2 separate regions of the Homo sapiens genome follow, and region 1 is linked to region 2. Evidence: promoter capture Hi-C in 16 types of primary human blood cells and fetal thymus (Javierre and others, 2016). All regions are on one chromosome and are shown on one strand. The core of a region is centred on a gene start or on the middle of the fragment in contact, and the rest is flanking DNA. Distances in the headings are between cores, read along the strand shown. Region 1 holds the start of SAMM50 (SAMM50 sorting and assembly machinery component). Region 2 holds the start of PARVG (parvin gamma).

Region 1 (7,352 bases), core at 1,686-4,185, 230 kb after region 2:
TGAGTGATTACTTTGTTCAAGATGCCACAGGGGATGCAAGCCAAGAAGATGCAGTTCCTACCATTACATCTAGAAATTTAGGATCAAAGGATAAGACGAAAATGCAAACAGACCCAAAACAAGCCAAAATGTAAATGGCACCAAAGGAAATGGCACGGAAAGGCGAAGCCCATCCAAATGCAGGGGATAAAGAACTTTCAGAACGGAGTTCTAAAAGATGGGAATATTTTGATGCTAAAGATGGATGATGGGAGGGGGAATGAAGTGCAATAGTGCGGTCCAAATAAAGCCATCCTCACAGGGCTAACAAGAATTCTGGACAAAGGCCAGGCGTGGTGACTCATGCCTGTAATCTCAGCACTTTGGAAGGCCGAGGCAGGCGGATCACAAGGTCAGGAGATCGAGACCATCCTAGCTAACAGTGAAACCCCGTCTCTACTAATACAAAAAATTAGCCGAACATGGTGGCAGGCGCCTGTGGTCCCAGCTATTCAGGAGGCTGAAGCAGGAGAATGGTGTGAATCTGGGAGGTGGAGCTTGCAGTGAGCCAAGACCGTGCCACTGCACTCCAGCCTGGGCACAGAGCAAGACTCTGTCTCAACAACAACAAAAAAAATTATTCTGGACATCTGGACAGAAATGTAGTTATAATTGGCTGGGCGCAGTGGCTCACACCTGTAATCTCAGCACTTTGGGAGGCCGAGGCGGGATGATCACTTGAGGTCAGGAGTTCAAGACCAGCCTGGCCAACATGATGAAACCCCCGTCTCTACTAAAAATACAAAAATTGGCTGGGTGTGGTGGCGTGCGCCTATAATCCCAGCTACATGGGAGGCTGAGGCAGGAGAATCGCTTGAACCTGGGAGGCGGAGGTTGCAGTGAGTGGAGATTGCACCATTGCACTCCAGCCTGGGCAACACAGTGAGACTCCATCTCAAAAGAAATGTAGTTACAATTAACCATTAATCAAGTTGCCTTTTTTTTTTCAAGAGCACAAATCCACATTGATTTATTGACTTTTCATTAGTTTAAATCCTTGAGGGGTACAGCATTACTCGGATTCTGTGTCCAACAGCCTTAGCAGGAAGATTGCTTCAGAATTTGGCACGAATCATGCCATTGTTTCTGTGGGCCCGAGTTACCTTTCCCCAGATTACTCTGGCTTTGTTTGATTTGCCGCCAGGAGTCACTATGTTGTTCTTTGCTTTGTATACATGAGCCCAAATAGAATTCTGTTTCATCTCGGGCATAAACACCTTCAATTTTAAGAAGAGCTGTGTGCTCCCTTTGGTTCCGGAGACTCCACTTATAGCCAGCAAAAATGGCCTTGGACCACAGCCTTCCAGACATATTTCCTTTCAGAAGTCCTGCTCCCGGCAGGCCGCCACAGGAGCCAAGATGGCAGGAAGAGCTCAGGTTGCACTCTGACCTACTTGCTAGTAACCAAAAGTCACAGATACTATTTGCATCCCCATTGATTTTACAGATAGGATTTCTAAAATTAGAATCATAAGGCTTTTGCTTAAGAGTTGCTTTAGATGTTTTTCAGATCTCGAATTCCAGCAAAACTGATGCTGCCAACCAGTTTGAAGACTCCTCCCCGCAACAGAGGAACGGAATCAGCATGAGAAGTTTCCTCATCTCCCTGTCCCATAACTTCACCCTTCACTCTTCCACCAATCAAGGATCTCCACACTTCAGCAAAAACATGAGGTCCAAACTCCTGAAGGAGATGGATTTGAGGTTTCCTCTCTTTTCCCATCTCCTCGTTCAGCGGCCCTGCAACTGAAACTCTTTCTCTGCTGCAACCCACTGTCTGAGTGTATTGACTTATCGAGCACACTGAGCAACAGACCTATTACAGTTACACAAAGAGATGTCAGAAGAGAAACGGTGTTTGATCTGAATGAAAGACATATAAAGGGAAGTTAAGTCCAATTATCGATGTCAGGCTGCGACTTCTGTGCTAAATTTTTTTGGAAGTTAATGGGGAACTACTGAAAACGTCTATGCAGGTCAAGTGAAGCAATCAAAGTTGCAGTAGAAAAGTAGTGTTGGGGCTGAGACTCAGGAAATCTGAGGTTTTAGGCCATTTGGAACCAGTAACTATGTGACCTTGGAGAAGTAACTCATTATCTGGCCCTTATTTAAGATTAGGATAAACGAGAGGAGTTTGGCAACCAGTACAGTTAGTCAGGCGCCAGGCACCCAAGTATTCACATGCATTGTCTTTTAATTCTCTTTTAAGCCAGGCGAGGTAGGTACTATTACTACCTCCACTTTAAAACAGGAAGTAAGGCAGAGAGCGGTTCCGTCTTTTGCACGGTAGACAGGAGAAAAGAGGACCCCTAGATAGGTTTGAGTTAGAAGACTTCAAAGGATTCTTGTTGCTCTAGGAGCCTACAATGGCTCCAGCAGCGGCTGAGCGGGGAAAGGCTGGAAGTGACCAGTAAAGAGAGAAAACTTAAAATCATGCAAAGAAAGAGCACATTCACTGCGGTCTAAGACATCACAGAAAGTTGGCAAGTCCTTTGGGCCACGGACTCGCCGAGTGACCTTTAGCCAAGTCTCGTCCCTCCTATCAGGTTCCTGCTCGAAGGTCTGCAAGACTCGCTGGCCCGAGGCGACCTCTTTTCGGCCTCCTCCACCCAGCCCGGCACCCTTGGCACCCTCTCTCCCGGTGAACCCTGGGCGCAGCCACGAGAGCGTCTCCCCGCGGCGCCCGTCTGCCCTGCTGGCCCAGAGGCCTCGCAGCCCGCGGGTCGCTGGGCCTCTTACCCGGGCGTGCACAGTCCCCATGGTTCCCTCTCCAGCCGCTGCCTCGCAGAGCTGCCCGGGCGGGACAGAGCGTCTGCTGCTGAGGGCAGAAGGCGGGTCCGCGGTGGCGGAGCTGCAGGTCAAGGCAACTCCCACAAACCCCCGGACGCGGAACACTGGGGGCGGCCATGATTCCCCGCCTTCTCCGCGCCCCCTGGCTCGCGATGCCTTCGCTCATTGGTCCTTATGCGCCTGTGACCCGGATGTTCACACGGCCGCGGAGGACGTTCTGACTGCGCAAGCGAAGAGCGTTCACTGACATCCGCGAAGCTGCTGGCGCGTGGACTGTGTGGGGAGGGCGCGTGGGGTGAAGGTGGGTCTGCGAGAGGGTCCGCTGGGAGGCTGGCGTCTGGCGTTGGCGCCTGAAAGAGATCAGACCAGCTGTTGGGTGTCACTCAAGTCCTGCTGCTCTTAGCCCTCCTAGCACCCCCGACCCGAGGGTGCTGTGCTTGTGCCCACGCGCCGGTGAAGCCCCGAGACTCAGCGGGGAGACCCCGGGTCCGGCCACCCCCGAGCTGCAGTAGTCGGGTCTCACCGGCATCTGCTACACAAACCCGGATTGGTGCCCTGGCTCCTTTCGTTCAAGTCATTGGAACCCCCACTCAAAATCGTCAAAATGAAGACGATGGTCGTGTCTCCTTCTTGGGGGTTGGATTAAAAGGGCCTAATGTGAGAGACGGAAAGCAAAGCTCCCGGCACCGGGCCGGGCACACGGTGGGCGCTAGATAATGACCGCTATTCACTCAACTGCAGCCAGTAATTATGGGCGAGGGCCATCTAGGTGCTTGCATGAGAACCAGTCATATCGGTGAAGAAGACGGCCATGGGCTTAGGTTTTGGTGGCAAAACAGCTCCCCTGCCCCAAAAAAGAAAAGAGAATAGAAAAGAAAAAGGCATAATAAATATCAGCCACACATTGTGATAAGTATATTGAAAGAAACGAGACAGAATAAGAAAAGAGGAAGCTTCAGTATCCTGTCACGTTGCCACTCCCTTCTGATAACAGAAGCATCTTTTCTTCTGTCCCCTTACTCCCTCCCAGAAACCCTGACACCCTTTCCATTTAAATAGCAGCACCCTAGGCCTCCAACATCCCTGAGCTAAATATTCAAGTCCACATGTCCCTTCTTGCCTGGAAAGAGACAGAACCCAGCACCAGCCAGGCCCCTGCCCTTCCCTCACTCTCAGTTCCCTGAGCCTCAATTCCTTATCTGTAAAATGGAAATGATAGCCTAAGGCATAAGGTCTGAGGACCTCATGAGATCAAGCATGGGGCCTGGCACTCTGTAAACATCGAATCAACCAGATTTTCTTTGCCCAAACAGCCCTCTTTTCTTACACTTTCTTCCTCGTTATTCTTCTGAGTATGCCACTTGTAAAGGATAAGCCATGAGGTTGCCCTGCAGAGTGCAAGATGGTTGCAATATTTGAGAGCCTATTGTGTGTGAGGCCCTGGAGGATGGCAGAGGGAACAGGAGGAAAACAAAGTCACATGCTTTACCCTCAAACAAAGGGCTGTCTGCGATAGTTACAATGTATATATTAAAGGCTATCTGTGATAGTTACAATGTATATAATATATTAAAGGCTGTCTGTGGTAGTTAACAATGTGTATATTAAAGGCTGTGATAGTTACAATGGGTATACTATATTAAAGGCGGTGGTAGTTACAATGTATATAATATATTAAAGGCTGTGATAGTTACAATGTACATAATATATTAAAGGCTGTGATAGTTATAATGTATATATTAAAGGCTGTCTGTGATGGTTATAATGTATATAATATATTGAAGGCTGTCTGTGATGGTTATAATGTATATAATATACTGAAGGCTGTCTGTGATAGTTAAGATGTATATATTAAAGGCTGTCTGTGATGGTTACAATGTATATAATAAAGACTGAGAAGTCTCACAGTGCATATACTGGTTTCCTTCTCTTTAACCCAGTATTTCTTGAATTTATTGGGTCATAGAGATTTTTGGTTTTGGAGATTTTTCTGTGGCCTCTGGCAATGCTATTCAACAGTATTTCTTGTGCTCCTCTTTTGGGCACAAGAGAGGATTGCATCTCCCTGCTCCCATCCATGTGACTTGCTTTGGTCAACACATTGTGAGCAGAAGAGAGATGTGCCACTCTGGATGAGAACCTTTAAGAACCATATTTCTCTAACCATGCCATGGCAATCAGCGATCCCCCAATGGTGGGGCACCTACAGGCTAGGTCTGGGAGTGAGGACGACTTAAAATGAAGCCCAGCCACATTTGCTGGACATACAGCACGAATGAGAAATAAACCTTTTGGGTTTTGCTTGTTAATGCAGCATAACTCAGCCTATCCTATATGATAATACCAGCTAGAAACATCTTCAAGGAAACCAGCATCCCAGAAAACCTGGTTTACAAAGTGCCAATCTTGTCCAATCAGAAGTAGAAGTGCAGTTTAGTGACTAAGCTAGTTTCCTTAATACAATCCAGGCTGAGTGCAATGGCTCATACCTATAATCTCAGCACTTTGGGAGGCCGAGGCAGGAGGATTGCTTGAGCCCAGGAGTTCAAGATCAGCCTAGGAAACACACCCCATCACTACAAAATAAAAATAAAAAATAAAAAAAATAGCTGGGCATAGTAGCAAGCACCTGTAGTCCCAGCTACTCCAGAGGCTGAAGCAAGAGGATTGCTTGAGTCCAGGAGTTCAAGATCAGCCTGGAAAACAGTGAGACCCCATCTCTACCAAAAAAAAAAAAAAATGTTTTTAATTAGCTTTTAATTTATTTAATTAAAACCTCCTCAGGAAGCTGAAGGAGGAGGATTGCTTGAGCCCAGGAGGTCAAGGCTGCAGTGAGCTGTGATTGTGCCACTGCACTCCAGCCTGAGCAACAAAGCAAGACCTTGCCTCAAAAAAGTAAAGAAAAACACCCCAAATTTAATTGGCCATGGGGAGGGGAGACTGGATCTTCCCACGGGAGTCATCCACCTATTAGTTTGGGACACCCCTTGGGGTGCCCTTTTTCATCACCTTCCCAGGGGCTGAGCGCCCTGAGGTGAGGGGCTCACCTCATTGCCTCTATCAGCCAGCACCTGACCTCTGAGGAGTGAAGGTGAATCAGTGAGAGGAGCCTGGAAGGGCATTCCCTGGGTGGAGGTCCCCTCGGGAAGCAGGGTGACTCAGGGAAGAGGCTCTGAGCTGCTGGTGGGACTGCAGGAGCTGGAGAGGGTGTGCTAGGAGGGAGTCTGGAGGCAGAGGAAGGCGCTGGGGTTGTGGCGGGGCCTCAGCTTGCCCAGCAGCAACGTGGGTCCCCTCGGGAAGCAGGGTGACTCCGGGGAAAGGCTCTGAGCTGCTGACAGGGCTTCAGGGGCTGGAGGGGGTGTACTGGCAGGGAAGGCCTGGAGGCACAGGAAGGTGCTGGGGGTGTGGTGGGGCCTCAGCTTGCCCAGCAGCAACGTGGAGGGCAGATGGGCCCAAGGCTGAAAACAGGCGGCCCCCAGAGGGAAGCTGTTGCAGCAACCCAGGTAGAAAGTACCAGGGCTGACCCTGGCAGCAGTGGGCTGGGGACAAGAGACCAGATTCCAGAGATGACAGCAGAGGCAGTGCTGGGACCAGCTGGAGTTGGAGCGAGGGAGTCTCCCTGAGTCCCCAGTTCCAGGCTGGGGTGGCTTTGGAGCTGCAGAGCTGAGGTGCTGTGAGCTGGAGGGCTTGATGTTGAGGGGCTGCTGGTGTTGAGTAGAGCCAGAAGGTGGGTAGGTGGCCCCGAATCCCCCCAGAGTCAGAGACTGAGGACCCAGGTCCTCAGGGGGAGCACAGCCTTCCCAGAGGTGGCTGTGCACACTCAGCACAGCAGCTGCAGCTGGGCCTTGGTGACAAGCTCGGTGTCCAGGATAGAGATGGGGTGCCTGAGAGTCTGGGGTTGAGGAAGGAGAGGGATTCTAGGAGGGTCTGGTCCACAGTGCCCAGGAAAGAGCCCCTGGGCTGTGGCAGGGCCATCAAAGGAGCAAGGCCGTAACCCCCTAGGGAGGACTGTCCTAGAGGAGCTTGGCTGTGAGGGAAGCAGGGTACATCGGGGCTCCTTGGAAAGGATGTACACAGGGAGAGTCCTTTAAGAATCACGTTTATTAGGAGTTATTTTCTCATGCTGAAAGTGATGCATACCGTTCACCATAGAAACTTGGGCAACACATATAAGCACGACAAATAAAATACAATTACAAATAACAGTCTGCCATAAGGGTTTTGATATATATCCTTAGTCTTTTTTTTTTTTTTTTTTTTTTTTTTTGAGGTGGAGTCTCACTGCATCTCGGGTCACTGCAACCTCCACCTCCTGGGTTCAAGTGATTCTCCTGCCTCAGCCTCCCTGGTTGCTGGGATTACAGGTGCCCGCCACCATGCCCAGCTAATTTTTGCATTTTTTAGTAGAGATGGGGTTTCACCCAGTCTGGTCTCAAACTCCTGACTTAAGTGATCCGCCTCCCTCAGCCTCCCAAAGTGCTGGGATTACAGGCATGAGCCACCGTGCCCAGCCCTCTTTCAGT
Region 2 (6,668 bases), core at 1-2,500:
TTCACCTGGAGACGGAGGGGTTGGCTGAAGTTCAGAGGCGGCAACTCCTCAGTAGAACAGGGAGGGAGGACGCCGAGCAGCCTCTGAGCAGGGGCAGCCGGAGGGGCCGTGGGGACTCAAGGTCCCACTTTACCGACTCCCTTCCCCGGGTGGCCTGGGCTGGGACTGCACTCTGGGATCCTTCCCAGGTGGTGTCTGGGCCCCTCCCTCCGTGACCCCCAACACTCAAGTATGGTGGCCCCGATGCCAGAACTCACCCAACCGCTTTCCACGCAGGAAAACAAAGGCCTACTGAGTGCAAAGGGTGGTCCCTGGATTCCGAATGGAAGCAAGTTCCGGGTTCTTCTGGGGTCTTCGGGGACCAGGCCGGGAGGCAGGAGCCCCGCTGCTCACTTCCTCCAGGCCCGCTCAGCCGGCAGGAGCTTCCTCCTCTCTGCGGCAGGGCCCGAGGGGGGTGGATGCCGTGAAAGTGAAGCTGCCACAAACCTCCAGAAAGCTCTGCCCGGAGCCCCAGCGCCCGCCGTGCCGCCTGGGCCCCCGGGGTTCTGCAGGCCACTTAAACTCAATGCTTTCATTTCTCCCCCTCTCCCCGCCTTCCCCAAACCATGCCAGTTTCCCCGCAGGCTGTTCACCTCCAAAATGGCAGCTACATAGGCCAGAGCCTGGGGTCGACCCCCGCAACCCACCACCAGCACCCTGTCAGCCTGGCCTCCACCCTCCATCCCGCACCGCCGTCCTCCCACCTCCACACCCCGCCCCGGGCCAGGCCCCTTCCTCTCCCGGGACCACGCAGGAGACTCCTACCTGGACTCTCGGCTGCAGACTTCCCCACGCCCCCTGCCCGCCCCTGAGCTGAGGCTCCCACAAGCCCTCGGAGGAGTGAGTCACTTCCTGACCCCACTCACTCAAACCCACCAACGGCACCCAATAGCTCTTAAAATAAAATCCAGGCTGTGCGTGGTCTGTCTCTCTCAATCGCGGTTACATACCCGTGTCTAGAACAATGCTTGGCACAAAGTGGGCTCAGTGAATAAATATTGGTGGTGGTTGTTGCCAAGGGGATCGGGAAGGCTTTCCAGAGGAGAATGGGGCCTTGACGGCTGCATAGGAGTTTGCAGTGGAAGAAGAAGGGGTGAGAACGTGGCAGGTGGAGAAAACAGCGTATGCAAAGGCATAGCAGGGTTCGAGAAGGAGAGATCTCAGCACAGTAGATAGAGAAACACTTCAGACCCGAGCTGGTCTCTCAAGCTGGAATCTTCACCATCCGGGCTGAAATGGTGAGTTTCCCTAGCAACAGGTGACTGGGAAGCTATCTACCCTTTCTGACAGGTTAGGCAGAAAGTGGCTAAATCAGGTGGGATGCAGGTGTAAGGAGTGTGTGAGAGCAGGAAAGTAGGGTCGTTTACAAGAAGTTAATAAAAAATGACAAAACTTAGTACTGGTATTGTTGCTAATATTTATGGAGTCATTGGTGATGAAACAAACATAATTTTAAGGGCTTTCATTTTACTGGAAACTTCCTTGTGAGGTAGGTACAATCATCACCCCCATATTACAGAGGAAGACACTGAGGCACATGAGTCAGTCCCTGCCATTCTGAAGTGCCCGTGCTAGACTGGGGCTTGTAACAGGTGGGGAGAGAAGCCACCGTGCAGGACCTATTTTGCTGGGGCGTGTGTAGCAGGCTCAGCCCAGCTCTGGACACAGTGGTTCTGGTGGTGGCTTCTGACTCTGGATCACAGCCACATAGATGTAGCAGCAGTCACAGTCCCAGCAGCAAAGAGACGGTATATTCCCATGTGCTAACTGAAGACTGTTTAATAAAGGGACAGCTGGGGCAGGGTTAAAGGAACCCAGAAGAGACAGTGCTACACCCCAGGCTAGCAACATGGGGAGCTGTTACTTCTTCAAAACCTAGAGGGTGAAGGAGGGAGTGGGTGGCAGAGCCCAGGAACAGAATCACTGAAGCTCTAAGAGGGGCCTCGGGATAGGAGCTGTGGCCTTTGGTAGAGGGACACAGCCAGCTCATGGTGAACCAGCAGAAGGGCACAGCTGGAGGAATCAATGACCAAGCCTCACTCTCCTCCCTCCTGCCAGGGCCTCCCCTGCCCACATCCAGCCAGAAGCCAGAGAAAAGAAGTCCCCTGCTGCGGCCCATAGATGTGAGGAGAGAAAATGGTGGGGAGTGGATCTGCAGAGGTGAACCTAAAGCATTCAACCCAGAAAGCATGCTTCTAGGGCCAGCCTGACTCGGCAGCTTCCTTCAGGAGCCAGCTCTGCAGTATTCTTCCAAGAGTCCTTGCTGGAGGCGCTGCCTCCAGCCTTCCAACAGCTTGAGAATCACACAGCTTCCTATGTTAGATTCCTTTCTCCTCCAAACAACTGAAGAGACTCTAATCATCGGCAACTGAATCCCAATTAACTTCGGATTTGTTACCAGAAACAATTGCAGGCAACACGACCTCCAGGATGGGAACTGGGATTGGTTACTTGTTCTGGTTGATTTAAAGGCAGTGGGGACCTAGTAACTGTTAGAGAATGGAGTTCTAATAGATCGTAGCCTGTGATGGCAAAATAATTACCTGTCATCACTCAGAACGAAGTACCTATTAAATTGTGGCTTTGGCAGAGTTGTGGCTTCCATACGCAATACGAGCACAGGTTATCTAAGGACTGTGGGGTGAGCTTGTTATCATCACACCAAAGAGTTTAAAGCAAGAAAAGGACAGTCCCAGGGCTTTACATTCTCAGCTCAAGGTATGTGCAGAATACAGGGAGTTCTCTGATAGCCCTCAAAGCTATCTCTCATCTCTTGGGGCTGCAGGGCTGATGTAAGAATCAGATGCGAAATCTAATCCTGTATGGTGTGGAGTTACAACAGACTAAATCCACAACTCACAAAGCCTCTTGTGTGTAGAGCATTGTTTAGGGGAAGAGAGGGACTCTAAGAATTGGAAGAGTAACATGGAGATAAGTCCAAGCACCCCCAAACCCCAATTAAGAGAAAGGCATGGATAGAAGGGAATTATTCCAGCCTTTTTTTTTTTCAGAGACACGGTGTGAAATATACCTGTGCAAATATGCCAAACACTACTGAACTGTATACTTAAAAATAGTTAAGACAGTACATTTTATGTTACGTGTATTTTTAACCACAACTAAAATTTTTAAAAATTAATAAAAAATAAATAAATTGCAGGGATCACATCACTTTAGGGATATCTCTAAATACTTCAGAATGTTTCTCCTAAAAACATTCTCCTGCATAACACAGTACCATTATGATACCTAAGAAAATTAGCATTGATAGAAGGTTTTCTAATATCTCATCCACATTCAAACTTCACCAAGGCTTCAAAAAATGTCTATTACAGCTGTATTTTTTTTAATCCAAGATCCATTCAGGCATCACACAGCACATGTGATTGCATTTGGTTTTCATGTCTCTTTAGAGCCCTGTAATCTAGAACAATCTTTCACGACACTAACATTTTTTAAACATCCAGGTCAGTTGTCCTGTAGAATCTATCACTTCTGTCATTTCCTGGTCTGCTTCTGTGGACTGATTTTTCTCCCGATTGTGGGTCACAGTTTCCTGCTTCTTTATAATAATGTTTTATTGAATGCTAGACATTAAATTTTTATGTCGTCGCGTGCTGAATTTTGTTGCATTTCTTTAAGAAGTGTTGGAATTTTTCTGGCAGAAATATTCTTTTGATGTCTGTTTTTAATAAGCGTAATCTCTGCAAGCTCTGATCTTTGTCTCCTTAAATCAGTGAGACCTGGCTCTGTCTGGGTCCCCCTCACTACAGCACAGTCCAGGAATTATGTCCAGGCAGAAAGCCAAGACCAGGGTAGGGCTCACCTCACTTGCCACCCTTTTCTTGGGGATCACAGATCTGACTCGCCTCTTAACATTTTACTTTTATATAGTTTCAAACTCACAGAAAAGCTGCAGGAAAGTACAAAGAGTTCCTATGTGTATTAGTCCATTTCCATGCTGCTAAAACAGACATACCCAAGACTGGGTAATTTATAAAGAAAGACAGTTTAATGGACTCACAGTTCCACCATGGCTGGGAAGGCCTCACAGTCATGGTGGAAGGTGAAGGGGGAGCAAAGGCATGTCCAATGTCTGAAGTAACTGTTTCCTGTGTTTTGTGGAGGCTTCTAGTTATTCCTGATGGAAAGGTAACTCCAAAAGTGAAAATTCTTTCCTCATAAATATTGATCGATTACAAAGAAGAGTTACATTTTTTAGTGTACAAATTTGATAAACACTATATTAACTAAGTAATATATATTTTTTAAAAATAGAAACAGTGCACTCTGTCAGACTGGAGTGCAGTGGTGTGATCACGGCTCACTGCGGCTTTGAACTCCTGGGCTTAAGTGATCCTCCTGGGTAACTGGGACCACAGACGTGTGCTCACATGCTAAGTAATCAAAATTAACATCATAAGAAAGTAAAACAATCAACATGACATGTCTCCTGGTAATGATGCGCTGAGAGGAACACATCACTTCTACCGAAAACGCATAACCTGGATCTAATAACGAGGAAAATACTAGATCAATCCAAGCTGCAAGACATTCTGGAACATAACTGGCTTGGATTCTCCAAAGAATCAAGGCTATGAAACATAAGGAAAGACTGAAGGGCCACTCCAGACTACAGGAGGCTGGAGAGATGGGACAACTCATTCAATGCCTTGTCCTGCCTCTTATTTTGGCATAAAGGACATCATTGAGACAATTGGAAAAAAACACAATTAAGGTTTGTAGATTAGACAATGCCATTGTATCAATGTTATTTCCTGATTATGACACATACTGAGATTATGGAAGAGAATGTCTTCACTTTTAGGAAGCTACACTGATGTATTTAGAGGTGAAGAGGATATAATGCATGCAACTTACCCTCAAAGATTCAGAAAATATATATATCACCAGGTAAATGTGTGCGTCTAAAGAAATATATATCATTATTATTATATCGAGAGAGGCAGATAGGCAGGGACAGAAAGAGAGTGAAGAGGATAAAGTAAAAATGTTAACATTCATGAGTCTCCAGGTAAACATAGTGATATGGTTTGGCTATGTCCCCACCCAAATCTCATCTTGAATTGTAGCTCCCATAATCCCCACGTGTCATGAGAGGGACCTGGTGGGAGGTAACTGAATCATGGGGACGGGTTTTTCCATGCTGTTCTCATGATGGTGAATAAGTCTCATGAGACTGGTTGGTTTTATAAAGGACAGTTCACCTAAACACACTCTTTTGCCTGCCGCCATGTAAGATATGCCTTTGCTCCTCCTTCGCCTTCCACCATCATTGTGAGGCCTCTCCAGCCATGTGGAACGGTGAGTCCACTAAACCTTTTTCCTTTTAAAATTACCCAGTCTTGGGTATGTCTCTTTTAGCAGCATGAGAATGGATTAATACACATAGGAACTCTTTGTAGTATTCCTGCAACTTTTCTGCGGGTTTGAAACTATATAAAAGTAAAATGTTAAAAGAAAAAAAAAAGCCTTTGCTCTCATCCTAGTTTAATATCACTCTAAGTGCACGAATTAAAAAAAAAAAATCCAATGTGTTATACTCCACATTGCTCCTTCAGATGCTTGAAGTATCCAAAATGTGGACGCTGTTTGTGCCTCTGTCCTTTTGACATGTCCCCATCATTCCTTGAGTACAGTTGGCCCTCCATATCCTTGGTTGCACATTCATGGATTTAACCAACCACGAATTAAAAATATCAAGAAAAAATTGCATCTGTACCAGACACATACAGAATTTTTCTCCGTCATTATTCCCTAAGTGATACAGTGTAACAACTATTTACATAGCATTTACATTGTATTAGGTATCATAAGTAATTTAGAGCTGGTTTAAAGTATGCAGGAGGATGTGCGTAGGTTATATGCAAATACTGTGCAGTTTGATATCAGGGACTTGAGCATCTTCAGATTTTGGTATCCTCCAGGGTCCCGGATTCACTCCACAGAGGATACCAGGGACAACTGTGCTTCCCTGCTTTCCGGCACAGTGTTTCAGGCTCACCTTGGCAATACATTTTAAGAATGAGATTGTGGGAGGAAATCTAGCACTACATTCCAAAGCCATCGAGAACATCAGAACCCTGTGTGGATGTTTCGAAAACACACCAAACATCCACAAAGGTGTTGCATACTTTAAGGTGACAGTCTTTCCTAAAAGCTGTCCGGTGTGACCATGTCCCGGCTGTTAGGACCAGCCACATGGCCACCTAAATCCGAGGGGCTGGGGACTGGAAGAATATGTGGCCTTTGCCCCATTTCCCTGGTGTCAGAGACCTCCTTACCCGCCTCTATGCCCAGATGCAGCCCTCTGCTCCATCTTCGTCCCAGACCTGCCCCCAGCTGCATTTCTTCATCGGCCTCACTGTGTTGTCCACCTGCCACTCCACTCTCTCCTGGTTCCTGTGCCCTAGCACACCCCCACCCCCCCACACCCAACGCCTCAGCGGCACACAGCAGGCTCCCACTACTCACTGACCCAATGAATGCTCCAGGTCCTACTGTGTTGGACACAGGGATTCCCCACCCCCTGCCCCAGGGCAAAGCCTCACCCTGGTGAAGATGATGATGGTGTATTAAATCAAATTTAAACCCCAAAGAGTGGGTTT

Evidence for each region. Contacts are between HindIII fragments. The CHiCAGO score rates a contact against its expected background, and 5 or more counts as called.
Region 1: the fragment with the promoter of SAMM50 here is called in contact with the fragment with the promoter of PARVG in region 2 in 4 of 17 cell types (total B cells, monocytes, naive B cells and 1 more); the score reaches 9.3 in total B cells.

Annotation. Positions count from the first base shown.
Region 1 is chr22:43,951,025-43,958,376 of GRCh38, reverse strand. It overlaps SAMM50 (SAMM50 sorting and assembly machinery component), which reads right to left and starts at 2,935. Exons shown (of 15, transcript NM_015380.5): 1 at 2,779-2,935. The coding sequence starts at 2,799. It also overlaps the pseudogene RPL35AP36. RefSeq lists enhancers at 2,191-2,400, 2,206-2,957, 3,081-3,160, 3,241-3,290, 2,958-3,710 and silencers at 2,843-3,117, 6,536-6,705. The HindIII fragment of the contact is 6,277 bases long and covers 1-3,784 here.
Region 2 is chr22:44,175,507-44,182,174 of GRCh38, reverse strand. PARVG (parvin gamma) reads right to left here and starts at 1,250. Exons shown (of 14, transcript NM_022141.7): 1 at 990-1,250; 2 at 258-433. RefSeq lists enhancers at 1-532, 533-1,263 and silencers at 640-769, 1,940-1,989. The HindIII fragment of the contact is 15,489 bases long and covers 1-6,668 here.